Linked DNA regions of Homo sapiens: region 2 is linked to region 1. Evidence: promoter capture Hi-C in human tissues and cell types (Jung and others, 2019). All regions are on one chromosome and are shown on one strand. The core of a region is centred on a gene start or on the middle of the fragment in contact, and the rest is flanking DNA. Distances in the headings are between cores, read along the strand shown. Region 1 holds the start of IGF1R (insulin like growth factor 1 receptor). Region 2 overlaps PGPEP1L (pyroglutamyl-peptidase I like).

What was found. The method cuts DNA at HindIII sites, captures the fragments that hold promoters and counts their contacts. A contact is called where the count stands out against the background at its distance.
Region 2: a fragment that was not itself captured here is called in contact with the fragment with the promoter of IGF1R in region 1 in 1 of the 25 tissues and cell types used here (mesendoderm cells).

The regions. Positions count from the first base shown.
Region 1 is chr15:98,646,531-98,650,359 of GRCh38, forward strand. IGF1R (insulin like growth factor 1 receptor) reads left to right here and starts at 2,009. Exons shown (of 21, transcript NM_000875.5): 1 at 2,009-3,145. The coding sequence starts at 3,052. IRAIN (IGF1R antisense imprinted non-protein coding RNA) reads right to left here. Exons shown (of 1, transcript NR_126453.2): 1 at 1-3,829. RefSeq lists an enhancer at 111-732 and silencers at 744-793, 804-1,273, 1,334-1,393, 1,764-2,033. The HindIII fragment of the contact is 5,713 bases long and covers 1-3,829 here.
Region 2 is chr15:98,999,865-99,003,693 of GRCh38, forward strand. All of the region lies in intron 2 of PGPEP1L (pyroglutamyl-peptidase I like), which reads right to left. Among named protein-coding and RNA genes, the nearest start is that of PGPEP1L, 6.0 kb to the right of the region's middle. The HindIII fragment of the contact is 3,326 bases long and covers 391-3,716 here.

The sequences.
Region 1 (3,829 bases), core at 759-3,258:
TTTTAAGATTCTAATAAATTTATTTCACTGTTAAATCTAGGAACATCCAAAACTGAAACTCTTTATTTAAAAATCAAGCTGAATTTCAGTTAAACAAAACCATCCCATCATATGAATAACTTTCTTAGGTAAAACAAGGTTTATTTTCTTTCTATACAACTGACTCTGAATTGAGCTAGAAATTTCCAAGGAGGAAAATGATCTAGGAAACAACTTTAGAAAAAAAGGGCTAAGTTTCCGTTATGATAGCTTTTGACTTGTTTTCAGCTCTTAAAAAATTATTTACGAACGATGGATACACGTTCTAATGCAGAAGTATTTTAGAATTAGAGAGTAAAAGAAACCTACTACCTTCCTTTACATCAGGTCCCTTCTACCATCCTACCCGATTGTTTGAGACAACCACTTCTTATCTCGACAATTCACAACTCTTTTATTAGCTATCTTAAAAAAATTTATTACTGGCATCAATTAGCCTGAGTCATGAAACCGGACCACATTAAGGGCGACACATGGTCCAATCACTGTTTGTAAAAGTCCACGTATTTCAAACTCCTCTCTCCTGCCACTGCTGGGCTGTTTCCCTCTTTGAGGACCTGGTCTCCGCAGCATTTATTCATTAGATGGCAGTCCTAGGGGAGTCTCGCTTTGGGGAAACCTCTCCTCCTGCACATTCAAGAAAACAACCGCGGAGACTTAGGGTCGGTACTGGTTTCCAGTCACTTACGTAGCAAACGAAGCAAGAGGAACGTGCCTGGGAGGACCCGAGACAGGTGCGGGTGGGTTTCCGCAGTAGCCGCTGATCCCGAGTGCATGCGGCGTGTTCCCGGGTCGGGACCGCGGCCAAGGGAGGCTTCCCGGCCCCAGCCTCCACCCCCTCCTCGGCGCCCCGGGACCCGGACACGCCCCCCGAGCTTCGGAGACCCGCAGCGTGCACGCGCCCCGGCCGCTCCCCGCAGCCGCCCACGTGGTGGAGCCCTGAGCTGCGCGAGGCCGCGGAGAGCGCTCAGGGCGGGCGGCTGGTCCGGGAGGCCACGCCAGCGCGACCCAGCCGAGTCGGCCCCCAGCCCGGGCCCCCACATTTCCTCCCCCGGAGGGAGGGAGGCGACTCTCCGCGGGCTGCCCTCCCCAGCGCCCGCCGCGCCCTCTGGCGGCCGCCGCGGGGACGCGCCCGGGGCACGCGGCGCTGCCTGTCTGGGCCCCCCTTCCGGGGCGCGGGGCCCGCGAGGGGCGGCGGGGTCCTCTCTCCTCGAGCCACTCTGGGCCGAGCCACACGGGCCGCGCCCTTCCCCCTCCGCTCCCCCTGAGCCCCCAAACTCCGGGCTCCACGGTCGCAACGCCGCGGGCACCCCAGCCTGGCGTGAAAGTGCCCGGCGTAGTAGCCTGGGGGGGGGGTCCCCTTTCTCCCAGGTGCGCCCCTTCCGCCACGTTCGGGCTTTCCAGTACGCAGCGAAAAAAATGCCGCATGCACGCATTTATTTATTTTGCAACAGCTGCAAGAAACAATGAAGCTTTTCAAGAACCGGGGAAACGCGCTTTCCAGCCGCGCTGTTGTTGTTTTCAATGAACCTCTCCCAGCCCCGCACTCCCCGCCCACCCCTCCCCTCTCCTGCCCACCCCTCCCCTGCCTAGCCTTTCCCTGGCTACCCACCCCTGCCCCGCCGAGACCGGACCGGCGGCGGGGGCATTGTTTTTGGAGTCGGGCGGGAGGGGAGGGCGCGTGCGGGGTGGCCGGCGCAGTGCGGTGGGGGCGGGAGCGGGTGGGCACGCGCGCGTGTCTCTGTGTGCGCGCGGGAGGCGGTGGGGCGGGAGATGGGGGCGGCGCCTCGCAGTCTCGCGCCCCACGCCCGGGCTCCGCTCCGCACGTCTTGGGGAACCGGGCTCCGGTTTTTTGCGCGCGCCGGCCTGGGCCGGGCCCTCGGCGCGCCGCTGCTGCGGCGGTGGCCGCTCGAGTGTGCGAGCGGGCGCGTGTGCGCGGGCCAGGGCGCGCGCGCGCGCGCGAGCCCCCAGTGTGTGGCAGCGGCGGCGGCGGCGCGGCGAGGCTGGGGCTCTTGTTTACCAGCATTAACTCCGCTGAGCGGAAAAAAAAAGGGAAAAAACCCGAGGAGGAGCGAGCGCACCAGGCGAACTCGAGAGAGGCGGGAGAGCGAGAGGGACGCCGCCAGCGAGCCTGCCCACGGCCGGCGCTCGCAGACCCTCGGCCCCGCTCCCCGGATCCCCCCGCGCCCTCCACGCCCCTCCCGCGCGGGGGCAGCTCCACGGCGCGCCTCGCCTCGGCTGTGACCTTCAGCGAGCCGGAGCCCCCGCGCAGAGCAGGCGGCGGCGGGCGGGGGCCGGGCGGGGGCCGGCGCGGGGCGGGCGGCGGCGCAGAGCCGGGCGGCGCGGCGGGAGTGCTGAGCGCGGCGCGGCCGGCCCGCCGCTTTGTGTGTGTCCTGGATTTGGGAAGGAGCTCGCCGCGGCGGCGGCGGCGCTGAGGGAGGAGGCGGCGGCGAGCGGAGCCAGGAGGAGGAGGAGGAGGGGGAGCCGCTCATTCATTTTGACTCCGCGTTTCTGCCCCTCGCCGGCCTCGCCTGTGACCCGGACTTCGGGGCGATCTTGCGAACTGCGTCGCGCCCTCCCGCGGCGGAAGCTCGGGCGTCCGGCCGCCTCCCGCGCGGCCAGGGCCGGGCTTGTTTTTCCTCGCCTAGGCAGATTTGGGCTTTGCCCCCTTTCTTTGCAGTTTTCCCCCCTTCCTGCCTCTCCGGGTTTGAAAATGGAGGCCGACGACGCCGACAGCCCGCCCCGGCGCGCCTCGGGTTCCCGACTCCGCCGAGCCCTGGGCCGCTGCTGCCGGCGCTGAGGGGCCGCCCCGCGCCGCCCGCCCCGTCCGCGCACCCGGAGGGCCCCGGCGGCGCCGCCTTCGGAGTATTGTTTCCTTCGCCCTTGTTTTTGGAGGGGGAGCGAAGACTGAGTTTGAGACTTGTTTCCTTTCATTTCCTTTTTTTCTTTTCTTTTCTTTTTTTTTTTTTTTTTTTTTTTTGAGAAAGGGGAATTTCATCCCAAATAAAAGGAATGAAGTCTGGCTCCGGAGGAGGGTCCCCGACCTCGCTGTGGGGGCTCCTGTTTCTCTCCGCCGCGCTCTCGCTCTGGCCGACGAGTGGAGAAAGTGAGTATGTGCCCGCCGCCCGCGGCCACTGCGGGAACTTTTCCTCCGAGGGGCTGCGCCCTGTTTGCGAAACCCGAGTTGCCACCGTCGCAGCTGTCGGGCCCCCGGGCTCGGGAGCGGCGGGGTGGGGCGCAGGGCGGCTCTGCCGGGAGGGAGGCTGCAGCGGACCCGGGACCCGGGCTCGTTCGTCTGGAGCCCCGCGGGCCCTGGCTCCGCGCATCCCCGCGCGGGAAGGGCTTTTCTCTTTCTCCGTCCTGACAGCCCAGCCGTGTTTCCCGGCTAGGCGCGAGGACTCGGTAGGGAAGTTGGTGCCGGGGCGGGCTCCGCGGTTCCCGGGCCCCGCGACCCGCACCTCGCCCCTTCCATGCGCAAGAGCCTCTCCGCACACAGCGCTGATCCCCTGCGGCGCGCAGGCAGCAGCGACAGCACCCTGGGCCGCACCGCGTCTCCGCTGCTGGGGCTGACCGGGCAGTGGGGAGCGGGCAGCCGCCCGGCCCGCGGGGTGCGAGTTGCCCTCGAGGGGGGAGGTGCCCTGCGGAGAGGCCCCGAAGCCCCAGGACACGTCTCCAAGCGCCCGTCGCTGCCTCCCGTCGCCCAACGTGCTTTTGCCCCTCGGGCTCCTCGGGTTCCTGGCCTTGCCCGTCACTTTGGCCCGCTCCTCGTTGGGTTACCTGCCCCCGGCGT
Region 2 (3,829 bases), core at 804-3,303, 350 kb after region 1:
CTGAGAAGGTGACAGCATGCTGGCAGTCCTTGCAGCCCTTGCGCACTCTCAGCCCCTCCTGTGCCTGGGCTCCCACTTTGGTGACACTTGAGGAGCCCTCCAGCCCACCACTGCACTGTGGGAGCCCCTTTCTGGGCAGGCCAAGGCCAGCGCCAGCTCTCTCAGCTTGCAGGGAGGCGTGGAGGGAGAGGCGCGGGCGGGAACCGGGGCTGCGTGCAGTGCTTGCGGGCCAGCGCGAATTCCGGGTGGGCGTGGGCTCCGCGGGCCCCGCACTGGGAGTGGCCGGCCAGCCCCGCCGGCCCCAGGCAGTGAGGGGCTTAGCATCTGGGCCAGTAGCTGCTGTGCTCAACTTCTCGCTGGGCCTTAGCTGCCTTCCTGCCGGGCAGGGCTCAGGACCTGCAGCCCGCCATGCCGGAGCTCCCCCTCCTCCGTGGGCTCCTGTGCCAACGAGCCTCCCAGACAAGCTGGCCCCCTGCTCCACGGCGCCCAGTCCCATCGACCACCCCAAGGGCTGAGGAGTGCGGGCACATGGCACAGGACTGGCAGGCAGCTCCACCTACGGCCCCAGTGCGGGATCCACAGGGTAAAGCCAGCTGGGCTCCTGAGTCTGGTGGGGATGGAGAACCTTTATTTCTAGCTAAGGGATTGTAAATACACCAATCGGCACTCTGTATCTAGCTCAAGGTTTGTAAACACACCAATCAGCACCCTGTGTCTAGCTCAGGGTTTGTGAATGCACCAATCGACGCTCTGTATCTAGCTACTCTGGTGGGGACTTGGAGAACCTTTGTATCCACACTCTGTATCTAACTAATCTAGTGGGGAACTTTTGTGTCTAACTCAGGGATTATAAACACACCAATCAGCACCCTGTCAAAATGGACCAATCAGTTCTCTGTAAAATGGACCAATCAGCAGGATGTGGGTGGGGCCAGATAAGAGAAAAAAAAGCAGGCTGCGGGAGCCAACAGTGGCAACCCACTCGGGTCCCCTTCCACACTGTGGAAGCTTTGTTCTTTCGCTCTTTACAATCAATCTTGCTGCTGCTCATTCTTTGGGTCCACACTGCCTTTATGAGCTGTAACTCACCACAAAGGTCTCCAGTTTCACTCCTGAAACCAGCGAGACCACGAACCCACTGGGAGGAATGAACTCCAGACACGCTGCCTTAAGAGCTGTAACACTCACTCCAAAGGTCCGCAGCTTCACTCCTGAGCCAGCAAGACCATGAACCCACCAGAAGGAAGAAACTCTGAACACATCCAAACATCAGTCAAGAAATAAACTCTGGACACGCCGCCTTTAAGAACTGTAACACTCACCACGAGAGTCCGCGGCTTCATTCTTGAAGTCAGTGAGACCAACAACCCACCAATTCTGGACACACTACCACGTGGCTCAACCTTGAAAACATGCTAAATGAAAGAAGCCAGAGGCAAAGGACCACATGTAAAATGATTCCATTTATATGAAATGTCAGAAGAGGCACATCTATAGGGACAAAGTATATTAGTGGTTGCCAGAAGCTGGGTATGTGTGTTGTGGGGGGACGTGAGTGGTGAAAGCTAAGGGGTGTGGGGTTTCTTTCTGGGGTGCTGAAAATGTTCTAAAATTGACTGTAGTGATGAATATGTAACTTCGTGACTATACTGAGCCACTGAATGTTACTCGCTTTAAATGAGTAAATGGTATAGCATGTGGATTATATCTCAATGAAGTAGTTTAAAAACTTTTTATAATGGACTATTGATACATACAACCTGGATGAACCTTAAATTACTCCAAGTGAAAAAGAACCAATCTCAAAAGGACATGTACTGTATGATTTCATTTATATATTTGTGTTTTTTATTTTTGCTTGTTTGCTTTTTGAGACAGAGTCTCACCCTGTCACGTAGGCTGGAGTGCAGTGGTGTGATCTCAGCTCACTGCAACCTCCGCCTCCTGGGTTCAAGCAATTCTCCTGCCTCAGCCTCCTAAGTAGCTGGGGTTACAGGTGCCCATCACCATGCCCAGCTAATTTTTGTATTTTTAGTAGAGATGGGGTTTCACTATGTTGGCCAGGCTGGTCTCGAACTCCTGCCCTAAGTGATCCACCCCTCTGGGCTTCTCAAAGTGCTGGGATTATAGGCATAAGCCATCGCACCTGGCCCTATTTTTATTTTCAGACAGGATCTCACTCTGTCATGCAGGCTGGAGTGTAGTACCACGATCATAGCTTACTGCAGCTTCCATCTCCTGGGCTCAAGTGATCCTTCCACGTCAGCCTCCCGAGTAGCTGGGACCACAGGTGCATGCCACCATGTCTGATTAATTTTTTGTATTTTTGCCAGGTTTCCCAGGCTGCCCTCGAACTCCTGGTCTCAGGTGATCTGCCCATCTCAACCTCCCAAAGTGCTGGGATTACAGGTGTGAGTCATTGTACCCAGCCTACATAAAATATTTGTAAAATAAAATGATTATACAGATGGAGAACAGACTAATGGTTGCCAGGTGTTTGAGATGGGAGGAAGCGGGTGGGTGTGGCTGTAAAGAGCTAGCACGAGTGAGCTTTGTGGTGATGGTACTGCTAGGTATCTTGATTGTGGTGGTGGTGATAGGAAGCTACACTAGCTGAAATTACACACACACACGCACACATACTGCAAGCACAAATTTTGAATTATACCAATGTCAATATCCTGGCTTTTATATTGAAAATGTTAATATGTCAATATCAGGAGAGGCTGGGTAAAGGGTACAGGGAACCTCTGTACACTTCTTGGCAAATTCCTATATTTATTTCAAAATAAAAAGTTTTAAAAAGTGTGTGGCCTCCTGTGTGGGAGACTAGCCAGTGCCAGATATGCCTGTGATGGAGTCAGGTGCTCAATTAAGTGGGCTGCAGATACAAGTGGAATTCTCTAACTCAGCTTTATCCCGGAGTACAGCTGAGGTTTTCAGTTCCACCTCTGATTCCTGTGACATTTCCACCTCTGATTCCTGTGACATATTTCTCAAGTCATTCATATTCTTTGATGAGGAAAGGGCTGTGACTAAATGTCAGTCTCTGAGAACCCAGCTCCCTGGACCTCAGGCCTTTAGACTAGGAACCAGTTCTGGAGAGAAACTTGAATTATACCTTTGCAATTCCTGAACATCTGGGTCTAGACCCACAAACAGGGTTGGCTCATGAGGAAGTAAAAACTTTCTGAGGGAATGAAACAGTTTTGGACAGAACGTCCCAAAAAGCCCATGGTGTCCTCTGATTCAACCAAATCCTTCAGAATAAATAAGACTTTAGCTGCCCTTGGAAACAGCCAGAAAAAAAAAAGGGCAGTTATAGAAAATAGTGAGATTAAAAAAAAAAAAAAGCACTGAGAAGCCAGGTACCTCCTGGGATAATAAAAATACAATAAAAATGCAGCAACACACACAAAAATCACATTCTGCTTTAGAATCATATTTGTATCAGCAAATATGACATCTCTTATCTGTTTTAAATTAGAAAAATCAACTCTGCAAGTGAAGGTTTGAAGCTCTTGTGTTTCAAGTTCAAACCTCACTTTAAACTTGGTCAGCCCCCAGTGCAACTTGCAAACGGAGCTGGAGAAATCTTAGAATTCTGAGAGGCCCGTGGGAGGGATGCACGTTTTCTCACTCTTGTGGTTATCGTTGGTGCCAGTCTGAACACTTTGATCTCGAAGCAATTTGTCGGAGCCCTCGTTCTCCCACCATCTGTCTACATGCCAATTGTCTTGAGGAGATTTACACACGAAGCAAATCCAATTAAATGAAGAGACTGCCCCTGGCAGCTCTAAGCATTTCTAACACAGGAAGGCCACGCTCT